Linked DNA regions of Homo sapiens: region 2 is linked to region 1. Evidence: promoter capture Hi-C in 16 types of primary human blood cells and fetal thymus (Javierre and others, 2016). All regions are on one chromosome and are shown on one strand. The core of a region is centred on a gene start or on the middle of the fragment in contact, and the rest is flanking DNA. Distances in the headings are between cores, read along the strand shown. Region 1 holds the start of OR52H1 (olfactory receptor family 52 subfamily H member 1). Region 2 holds the start of OR51V1 (olfactory receptor family 51 subfamily V member 1).

Evidence for each region. Contacts are between HindIII fragments. The CHiCAGO score rates a contact against its expected background, and 5 or more counts as called.
Region 2: a contact is called between the fragment with the promoter of OR51V1 here and the fragment with the promoter of OR52H1 in region 1, in 1 of 17 cell types (megakaryocytes). The highest score is 5.5, in megakaryocytes.

The regions. Positions count from the first base shown.
Region 1 is chr11:5,546,519-5,552,541 of GRCh38, reverse strand. It overlaps OR52H1 (olfactory receptor family 52 subfamily H member 1), which reads left to right and starts at 4,002. Exons shown (of 2, transcript NM_001005289.5): 1 at 4,002-4,090. It also overlaps the pseudogene OR52H2P. The HindIII fragment of the contact is 4,857 bases long and covers 2,643-6,023 here.
Region 2 is chr11:5,197,744-5,203,766 of GRCh38, reverse strand. It overlaps OR51V1 (olfactory receptor family 51 subfamily V member 1), which reads left to right and starts at 3,085. Exons shown (of 1, transcript NM_001004760.3): 1 at 3,085-4,032. The coding sequence starts at 3,085. The coding sequence ends at 4,032. The HindIII fragment of the contact is 3,813 bases long and covers 2,210-6,022 here.

The sequences.
Region 1 (6,023 bases), core at 2,753-5,252:
GACTTGAGCAGTACCACGTCTGGATCAGCATCCCATTCTGCTTAATCTATCTCATGGCTGTCGTGGCCAATAGTATCCTTCTCTACCTCATTGTGGTAGAGCACAGTCTTCATGCACCCATGTTCTTTTTCCTTTCCATGCTGGCCATTACTGATCTCATATTGTCCACCACATGTGTCCCCAAAACACTTAGCATCTTCTGGTTTGGTCCCCAAACAGTTTCCCTGGCTGTCTCACCCAATTATTCTTTCTGCACTATAGCTTTGTGTTGGACTCAGCTATACTGCTGGCCATGGCATTTGACCGCTATATGGCCATTTGCTCACCCTTGAGATACACTACTATTCTGACTCCCAAAACCATTGTCAAAATTGCTGTGGGAATATGTTTCCGAAGTTTCTGTGTTTTTGTCCCATGTGTTTTCCTTGTGAATCGTTTACCCTTCTGCAGGACACATATCATTTCTCACACATACTGTGAGCACATAGGTGTTGCCCAGCTTGCCTGTGCTGATATCTCCATCAATATCTGGTGTGGATTTTGTGTTCCCATCATGACGGTGATGACAGACGTGATCCTCATTGCTGTCTCCTACACCCTCATCCTCTGTGCTGTCTTTTGCCTCCCCTCCCAAGATGCCCGTCAGAAGGCCCTTTGCTCCTGTGGTTCCCATGTCTGTGTTATCCTCATATTCTATATACCAGCATTCTTCTCCATTCTTGCCCATTGCTTTGGGCATAATGTCCCTCATACCTTTCATATTATGTTTGCCAACCTTTATGTAATCATTCCACCTGCTCTCAACTCTATTGTCTACAGAATAAAGACCAAGCAAATCCAGAACAGAATCCTTTTGCTCTTTCCCAAGGGGTCCCAGTGATAGGTGCCTGAGCTCTTGGAGGTAGGGACAAGTTCCTAGTGTGTGTTAGGTCAAAGACTGAACCTGTGTTCAGACACCCAAGAGAAAGGACAGACTAAAATTTATTAACGAAAACTTGAGTTTTGCTTTCTTTGTGATTTGAGGCAGAAGTCTACTCAATCATTTCAGTTATAGCAAAGTAAGTTCTGAGTCTAGGAAATAATAAATATTTTTTGACTTCTAGAAACAAGAACTTTTGTAATTCCTTATGATTGCTCTAAAGTGATTATAAAACTTTTAATGAAGACAATGTAATGATTGGCAAATCTGAATGGTTTTTCAGATTTATTTATCATGGTAGTTTATTTATACATCATAGCAAGGCAGGAAAATTACCTCTTTGATGACTCTGCAGGGTTCTGGGTTTTTACTTTGTTCACTCCTATTAATTTCTAAACAACATCAAGTATAATACCTAGCACACACTAGGGACATAGGCAACATTTATCAAATAAATAAATGGCAAATAATCATAAAATTATTAATTTAAGAGTGCAGGTGTTTATATTAAGCAAAGGGATAAGGCAATGATAAAACTCAATGTTTAACTCAACCTTGAGAAAGCCAAATGAGTTGTGGGTGGGTGGAGTTTTCCACAAGGAATAAAAGGAGGAAGGCAAATTCCTATGGCTAGTAAAATGGTAAAGCACGTACAGACTAAGAAGTGGGTTTAAGACTTGACCAATTGGAAGCATTGGTGGTCTCAATTTTTTTCATGTTTGTATCTCCATAGAGATGTAGTCACAAGCCAAAAATGTACCTCTGTATGATTCATTGTCTCTTCAAATCCAGTATGCATAACTTGGTCATAGTGAGTCATTCAGTCACTTGGTCAGTAATACTTATTTTTAGGTGTCTGCCAGGCAGCAATGATAATCAATGTCTTATTTCCCTTTCAAATCTGATACGTCCTCAAAACCTGTGGTTTTTTTCTAAATAACCTCTTGGATTCCCCGGCTGAGTGCAGGCACCCTCCTCCCCTACCCCAGTAGTTCAAACCCTCACTGCTTTCACTTGACTCAAAATATCAGAGTTGTTCATGGTCTCTTTACCTTGAGACTACTTTCCCATCCCCGTGCTACTACCCTTTTCACATGTCATTGAATTTTTATTTCTACAATGGCTCTCAACATATAGTTTTAATAGAAAAGAATGTCCTTTGGACTCGGAGAATTGTGTTTGAATTTATAGTCTATCTCTTAACATGTGACAATAGCTACATGCATTGTTTCCAAAATTACTTGATGTATTTTGCATACCATAAATAAAAATATAGTCAGGTCCCACTTAACAATGAGGATAGAGTCTCATAAATGTGTTGTTAGATGATTTTATTATTGTGCAAATATCATAGAGTGTACTTACACAAACCTGTGTGATACAGCCTTGGCTCTCTATTATATTCTATAGCTCCTAGGCTACAAAACTGTACATCATGTTACTATACCGAATATTGTAGGGAAGTATAATATAATGGTATTTGTGCATCTAAACATGTCTAAACATAGACAAGGTACTCTAAAATATGGTATTGTAATCTTATGGGACAATTGTTCAGAAACATTGTTATGTGGCATATTACAAAGTATAAATAGAAAAGGCAAAAAGAAAAGTAGAAAGATTTTTAAAAATTAAGACAAAAAATAGGCCGAAAATACACTTTCCACCTGCTATGAATTTTTGTTCTCTTATTATATGTGGGTCAGAAATTGAGCTGTAAGCTTTCTAACAGTCTATGTGAGAGTTAAACATGATTAGCTACATAATTCATGATGGCTATAAGTTACAGACAGTTAATTGTTAGAGAAGCAAAACTACTTCTTATATGAAGAATGGAGAAATATCTTTAGAAAGCTCTTAAAGAATAGGCAGTAAGTGATGCAATTAATCACATTCTTACAGAATACACAAGTTCATGTGACTCTTCAGTCCCTTATCCTAGTATAGAGAGGTGAAGCAACCTCAATTTTTATTCAGCGAAAGGTAAAAATTCTGTTGGGAGCCAATACAATACTAATCTCATTAGTTCTGGTTTATTCCAGATATTCTAGAACATTCAGAGTACTGAGTGGACTCCTGGCAATCTTTATTAATTAACACATTCAACAATATTTAGCAAACGTTTGACAAACATTGACAAAAACTGACTTGGCTTTCAGAATTGTTGGGTAAAAGCCTCTTAGGTAAAAATTGATATCTGGACTTGCAGAAATTCCTGACAGTACCAGCTGGTAGACCTAACAGTTTCTCCATAAGAATATATTTTATTTGCTCATATTGTTTTTACCAATAAAAATGTTTAATGAAGTTTAATGTTTTAAAAATTATAAGTGGGAGATAAGCTATAGGTATGCAAGGGCACACATAGTAGTATAATGGACATTGGAGACCCAGAAGAGGAGAAGCTAGGAGAGGGGTGAGGGATGAAACATCACCTATTGAGTACAATCTACGCAATATGGGTGACAGGTACGCTAGAAACCCAGACTTCAACCTTATACAATTCACCCATGTAATCAAAAAACACTTGTACCCCTAAAGCCACTGGAATTTTTAAAAGATAATATTAGAATTATTTCATGTGGGCCATATAATTTTCATCTTAACAGGTGCCCTAGGTTATTCCTTTACACCATAAGTTTGCCGATATGTTAAGCATTTTCACTAGCAGTATCCTATTAATTTGTCAATCCTTATAAAATCTTGAGAGACAGGTACTAATATGACCACCTTTTAATGGAAATTAAGTAACTCATCCAAAGTCCTTTATCTGGTAAGTGAGGGCATGAACTTGAAACCTGGGTGATATGATAGGCACATACACACAGCTTTCCACCCACATACACATCAGCTTACAAATAAATAAATAAATAAAGCACTCTAAGGCAGTGTTAACTCAAAGGCATGAACAAGGTTAATAGAATCTTTTTCATCTTCTTCCCTTGAGGGTGAGAAGAGGGCATGTCAGAGTCTCTAATCCCCTAACTACCTACCTTTTCCCCACAAGGAGCAGTGAGTGATCAGAGAAAATAAATGGACAGGGAATCAACCTCTCTAACGTCCTTCCTTTTCCTTCCACTCATGTTTTTTTTTGGTTGGTGTGTCTGCTGTCTTGTAGATTTTGTCAACACACTCTTTCTTCTTTCCCTTTGGCCTGATCCCCAAGATTTGGTGAGTATTGGCTGTTTGAAGGGGTTTGATTGGGACAAGACTTAGAGAAAGTGAGTGAAAAGCCAGGGCTCTATTTCTTAGGGACCATGGGCTGGGCACTATAATTTTCTTTCCTGAGCAACTCCCATTTATAAACTGAGGTCCTGATCTCCAGTACTTGTGTATATGCTCCACTGAGTTAAGCATCAAAAGATCAGAACAGATGGACAATTACACAGCTGCGTTAAGTATGACCACAGTTAGCAGTGTTAGGAAATTTCTGTTTCAGACATGTGACAAGAGTCCATAACTCTAACTTAAAATGTAGAATTAAGTGTGCTGGTATGTGTGTATGCCCAGGGGTGCTCCTGTTAATTTTTATCCATCTTGCAATTTCTGTTCTCTTTTCCACTGCATGGTCTGGTTGTTAATGATAATACTAATGATATAAAATATAACCTAATATAAAGAAGTAAAACTTGTTACATGCTTACTATGTTTCAGGTACTATATTAAAGAATATTTTTCGGCTGGGCGTGGTGGCTCACGCCTATAATCCCAGCACTTTGGGAGGCTGAGGCAGGTGGATCACAAGGTCAGGAGTTCAAGACCAGCCTGGCCAACATAGTGAAACCCGTCTCTACTAAAAATACAAAGAAATTAGCCAGGCATAGTGGCGGGCACCTGTAATCCCAGCTACTCGGGAGTCTGAGACAGGAGAATCACTTGAACCATGGAGGTGGAGGTTGCAGTGAGCCAAGATTGTGCCACTGCACTCCATCCTGGGCAACAGTGCAAGACTCTGTCTCAAAAAAAAAATTCTTTTTTCAATGTGTATCATTTTGTCCTAATAATAATTATAAAAATTAGAAATATTAATTTCTTTTAAAAACATAGGAACCCAAATATCATGTAGTTTAAATAGCTTGCCCAGATTCACATAGCTAGTAAATTGTGGAACCAGGATTAAATTGTGAAACCTAGCTTTCTGAGGCTCCAGAGTACATGCTCTGTGCCAATATTTTGCTAACATACTGTGGATGCCTGAGAGTATGTATGTGTATCTACCATAATACCATAATTATTGCTGATAAAATTAACACTAGTTCCTTTATATCACTCAATACCTAGTCCATATTTAAGTTTCCCTAACTATTCATTAATTGAATTCAATACCTGGTTTGTTTAAACAGAATTCAATCAAGAACTACACTGCAGGCCGAGCGTGGTGGCTCACGCCTGTAATCCCAGCACTTTGGGAGGCTGAGGTGGGTGGATCACCTAAGGTCAGGAGTTCGAGACCAGCCTGGCCAACATGGTGAAAGCCCGTCTCTACTGAAAATACAAAAATTAGCTGGGGGTGGTGGCGGGCGCCTGTAATCCCAGCAACTCGGGAAGCTGAGGCAGGAGAATCGCTTGAACCGGGGAGGCGGAGGTTGCAGTGAGCCGAGATCGTGCCACAGCACTCCAGCCTGGGTGACAGAGTGAGACTCTGTCTCAATAAAATAAATAAATAAATAACCACACTGCATTTATTTGTTTTTCTCTTAAATGTACTTTAATCTGGAAATGGATTTTCCTTATCTAATATTCCCCTTCCCCCTTTAATGGCATTGACTTGAAAAAAGAAAACAGATTGTTGTAGATTTTTCCACATTGTGGATTTGTCTGATTGTTAAATGAGAGAGTTAACCGTCTGTGCACCCGTGTGTGTTTGTGAATGCTTTTGGATGACTTCATGAACATCTGTTGTATTTGAGTTCATGGAAATACAAAAACTTGAGAAAACCTTTCCTCACATATGTATGAATAAAGGATGACCTCAGACAAGTTGGGAGTGCTGTGAGTTGTTATAGAGGCATTACTGGGGAAGAAGGTATAGGACCAGTGGAGAGGTTTTAGGAATTTACAAAGCCTGTGACAGTGACAAAATCTAATTGTGAAACATTTTGTT
Region 2 (6,023 bases), core at 1,836-4,335, 350 kb after region 1:
TTACAGGCGTGAGCCACCAAGCCTGGCTGAAAGTAGATACTTTTAACACATACCTACATTCACAGAATATTAAATCTTTTGTGATCAATCCCAGATCCTTGACGATATGTCTGAGTCAGGCTGGAAATGAGAGAAATCATGTTTGAAATTGGAGTGTTGTATTCAAGGTCAGCAAGATCCCTGGAGCAGCATCTGTTTTATAAACCATTCAAACTTGGTATATGATGACTCAATTGGTGGCCAAAGGTCAGAAAAGACTAAGTGTACACAGATGATTTTACACACACTTTGATAGGAGTGTTCACATTCATATTATCTTTATATCTCTGTGATTGTCTAGCTCTTATTTCATAGAATAATTAATTAAAAATTATTTGATAAGTGCCCATTCTATGCTAACCCTTATTTTTCATATTCTTGAGCAAAAAACAGATATGGTTCCTAATCTTCTACAGCCTCTAATGAATCTAATGGAAATTCAGTGTATAATAAGTGGTATAAATATAAACTAGTATACTGTGATGAGAGTAAGTTAGTTAAGGGGGTTGAAGAAATGAGATAATCTAGGTGGGGAGCAGTATTAGAAAAATCCCCCTGAGGAAGTAATCATTTTAACTCAAAAGTTAATGGTGAAAGGAATTGCTGTGCAAATACTTGGGGTAGATAATTCGGAGCACAGAGAAGACCATGGGCAAAGATCCTGAGACATGCATGTACTTAGCTTGTTTTGAGGAAGATAAAGATACCTAAATATTAAGGAGTGTAGGCAGTAGTGGTCTAAAGATGTAATAGAAGAGGCAGGTGAGCCACGTTATACAAGGCTTTTTGACTATGATAAAGAATTTGTATTTTACATTACGAGCAATGGGTAAGTGACCATCAAAGAGTTTTTTCAACAAAGGTTTGTGTGATTTAGTAGATGTTTGTAGAAAAGCAATTTGGTTTCCCTGGAGATAATACATTTTTTAGAGGACAAACAGATAAATCATGATATTAGCTAGTAATAATATTAAATTATTATTAATTTAATAAATTATCATAGTAGCCAGGGAAACAATGATATTATAAACCAAGACGGGCAATGTGTAAAAGTGGGCCTATCTGGGATGTGTTTCTGGTAGAAATGGTAGAAATTGATGAAAGATTTGATGGAGAGAGGAAAGGGAAGGAAAGAGAGAAATAAAAAATTTTAAAAATGACTCAAGACTTGTCTTATGCAATTGTGTTATTGGTGGAGTCACTTTATAATATTAGGAGAAAAGGGACAGAAAATAGATTTTGGGGGGAAAATCAAGTACTTTATTGGCATCATTCTTATTTTAAGATTAAACACTCAGATGAATATATTAAATAGCCAGTTGTATTCATGAATTTGAGCTCTCAGGAGTGGTCAGGAATCAGAGGTGCAAATGTTAGTTTCAAATAATAAGAAAAAGTTGACATAGTCTGCACATTAAGGAACTGAGAATTTAGTTTGTAACAGAGATATTAGTTAAATATTTAGTTTAAATATTAGTTAAATATTTAGCTAATAAATACAAAATTATAAGTTTTATTTAAAATTGAAACATGATACCAAAATAATAGATATATGGATAAATTTGTCTTAAGAAACTTCTTGAAAAGTGATTGTTGAGTTGCAAGATCGTTTTAAAAAGGGTAGGAAGAAATTGAGGAAAAGATGATGAATAATTTAGGCAGATAGAACATTTCGAGAAAAATTTTACGAAAGAAGAGAAATTCGATTTAGAGAAATGAAAGAAGATACGTATTCAAAAGACTGAAAAATCCTCTGCAAGAAACGAAGAAACTTCAAGCATTCTATGGAGAAAAAAGTATTAAAAATAGTGAGCTAAGTTATTCAATGCTGAGAAGGAGTCAGGGCAAGAAAAACAATGGTTAGACTGCTAGAAGACGTCAGTGTAGTATAGAGAGTACATTGAGAAGAAAGTCTGTGGAACTGTGTTGTGAGGCTAATAAGACAAAGCTGAAAAGTAGGACATAAAGGGCAGCCCAAATCTGAAGTTACTTTAACATCTCGAAGTTACTCAATCAAACATGAAAGTATGGACTTTTGAACATCTGTTTACATTATTAGAGCTTTAAAAAAACTTATGATGATTCTCAGGTCTGGAACTTAAAGCAGGCAAACAATGTAAAGAAGAAGCCAATTGATTCTGCTACCATGAGGCTTTTGAAATTATAAGCTTGCTTGTTTGAGCCTGGCTTTGTGATCTGTAGAACTGCAGGTTCTAAGAAAGAAAACACAATTGGCCAATACATTGAATAAATGTATATTGAATAAATAGTTAATCAGCTCATTAACTGAATAAATAAAGGAATGGGAAGCACTGAGCTGCTATCAAAGGCTCAGTGTCTTCAATCTAATTCTCTACATCACAAAGGCACAAATGAGTTGAACATCTCAAGAGGCCAGAGCTCCAGTGAGAAATCATTTACCCAAGGTCTCATGCATAAATATTCCTGTCTGCTTATCACCAATGAAGAAAAAGTAATTGCTGGCTACGTCATCTGGAGGGGGAGAAAACAGGAGTATCTTCATTAAATAGTATTTGGAGAAAAAATATACTTGGAGACGGCACAAAATGGAAAATGACGGAAAAGTGACTATTTAATAGACTTATGATATTTAAAGCCCAAAGATTACTCTTCACTTCGAATGTTTAATGAATTGGAGAGAAGAAAATAATTTTTCAAGAACCTCGGCTCTTTACTGGTATAAAATTTTTACCACTATCCTTGGGAAAATGTCTAAGCAACGTATTTTTTTAAAACTAGCCTTCTCCTTTTACTAATCTCTTCCTTATTTGTTTTTGCTTATGGCTTCTAAGGATATGTTCACATCCAGACAGTGAAAAAATAATGACTTTTAAATGACATCAAAAGAAGACCATTTTCTCAAAGGCAATGGATACTATGTCTCAAAGAAACAGAATTTCTCAGCTGTTTTTTTTAAGTCAGTAAGTTTTAGGGTATTTCATTTACTTAGAAATTTCATTGTATTCAGGTGAAATTGAAACATTTCCTTTGAAAAAATACTCTCACATGTTTCTCAGTTCCAGAATGATTACTTCAGTAAGCCCTAGCACCAGCACGAATTCTTCCTTTCTTCTCACTGGATTTTCTGGCATGGAGCAGCAATACCCCTGGCTTTCCATCCCCTTCTCCTCAATCTATGCCATGGTGCTTTTGGGCAATTGCATGGTTCTCCATGTGATATGGACTGAGCCAAGCCTGCACCAGCCTATGTTTTACTTCCTGTCCATGCTGGCCCTCACTGACCTGTGCATGGGGCTGTCCACTGTGTACACAGTGCTGGGGATCCTGTGGGGGATCATTCGAGAGATCAGCTTGGATTCCTGCATTGCCCAGTCCTATTTCATCCATGGTCTGTCCTTCATGGAGTCCTCTGTCCTCCTCACTATGGCCTTTGACCGGTACATTGCAATTTGCAATCCACTACGTTATTCCTCCATCCTGACTAATTCCAGAATTATCAAAATTGGGCTCACTATAATAGGTAGGAGTTTTTTCTTTATTACACCCCCCATCATCTGTCTGAAATTTTTTAATTACTGTCATTTCCACATCCTTTCTCACTCTTTCTGCCTGCACCAGGATCTTCTCCGCTTAGCCTGTTCAGACATCCGATTCAATAGTTACTATGCCCTGATGCTGGTTATTTGCATACTGTTGTTGGATGCTATACTCATCCTTTTCTCCTACATCCTGATTCTTAAGTCAGTCCTGGCAGTTGCCTCTCAGGAAGAGAGGCATAAATTATTTCAGACCTGCATCTCCCACATCTGTGCTGTCCTTGTGTTCTACATCCCTATCATTAGCCTCACAATGGTGCACCGTTTTGGCAAGCACCTTTCCCCCGTGGCCCACGTTCTCATTGGCAACATCTACATCCTTTTCCCACCTTTAATGAATCCCATCATCTACAGTGTCAAGACCCAACAGATTCATACCAGAATGCTTAGACTCTTTTCTCTGAAAAGATATTGAGAGATATTGAGATGTATTGCCTAAAAAAAAGAAAGAAAAGCAGCAACAATAATAAACAAAAATCAGTGCCATAAAAAAGAAAAAATTATTAAAATTGTAGATTTACTCTGAGTCCATGACAAATGACCTTAAAAAATATTTAAATATAGTCAGAGAATCAACAAACAAGTTCCATTGTGTCAGCCTGGACACATGTAGGTCACTCTATCAGTCTGACCATATTTAAGAAAGAGGAAAAAATTGTTTATTTGCCTGAAATGTACTTTTGAGCATTTCCTTTGCTGTAAAACAAAGCTGGATTAAAAACCTAGGTTTTCAAGTTTCAAAGTAGAAAACTTGAAGTTTCTTTCATTCTCTGAGGTTTACTTAATTAACCTTCAAAATGGAGACTATAGCCAACTCACAGGAATGTTGTGATATCTGTATGGACCAGAATTGTCCAAGGGAACTTTTCTAAACTGATGGCGATGTTCTATAAAATACCATAAAATGGCTAAAGTGGAATATATGGCTCCTGTGCGCTTGAAATGATGGTAGTGTAATTGAACAACTGCATTTACAATTTCAGTTACTTTAAGTTAATTTATATTTAAATGTTTAATGTCCTTGTATTGGACAGTTCAGTTCAGCAGCCACTATATTGGACAGGGAAGCTACAGTTCATAAAGAGGACACAAAGAAATATGACTTTGGATTCAACTTCTACCATGTCTAATTTAAATTAGAATCCTTATTTTTTAGATTTTATATGTGGACTCCACTGCTACAAGGCTGGAAGCAGATTTTGCTCTAGATCTTTTGCTTTTATATCTAAGTGGGGGATCTTCTGAACAGATGAGACTGTCCGCTACCGACTTATTCTGAGTTTAAAAGAAAAAAGATAAAAGAACATAAAGCGGTTCTTTTCTAAGTAAGCTAGTGCAGCTTTCCAAAGAAGGAAAGAAAGGAAGGAAATCAGGTACAAAACTATGCATGGATAACAAGAAAATAATTGTTTTAATCTTCCTATATTCTATTAGGTATCTAAGAAGGTAAGTGTTAAAATTGGACAAATTAATGCATAAGAGTCATTTTACACCAAAAAGCAAATATTTATTTTTATTTTTAGATATCAACTAAAACAACCAGATTTGTCTTCCTGTAATTATGCCTTCCTTTCCTTTCACTTTGGACTTCATTCAATAACATAGCCTCTGTCTACTTATTTGACTCAGAGGGAAACAAAAATACAGGCTTTGGTTTCTAATAGCTTAAGCCTCAAAGTGAGGAAATTGTTTCTGGACAGAGTAAAGTATCTGGTTAGAAAGATAAGTGTAAAATTATTCCTAGAACAATAAATTAGGTCTTCTGGGTTACAGTATAAGGTTAATTTGAAGGATAAAGGAGTGAATTTCCTGATGTCAAAGAGGATCTAGTGCATCTTCTGGTATAGCTATCAGAAGTGAAAACTGTGAGGTAGGTTCTAGAGGGGAAAATGTCAATATATATATTTTTTACTATATAATCATAGTAGCTGCCGAGGCGGGCGGATCATGAGGTCAGGAGATCGAGACCATCCTGGCCAGCAATGGTGAAACCCCGTCTCTACTAAAAAAACACAAGAAAGTATCCAGGCGTGGTGGCGGGCACCTGTAGTCCCAGGTACTCGGGAGGCTGAGACAGGAGAATGGCGTGAACCCGGGAGGTGGAGCTTGCAGTGAGTCGAGATCACGCCACTGCACTCCAGCCTGGGCGACAGAGAGAGACTCTGTCTCAAAAAAAAAAAAAAAAAGAGAAAAAAAAAGAAAAGTTGATATGAATGTCAGGTGGTAGTACTGCTCCAGGTTCCCTAATGATAATAAATGTCTGCATGGTCCCTCCTGGCCGACTGGAATGTGGCCAATCTGACAAGATTCCTATGCCCCAGTTTTATAATGAAAAGAGAAGTTAGCTGCTGAATCTGTAGAGGTCATGTGAATGTCTCATAGATTTCTCAATGGCCAAAGAAGCTT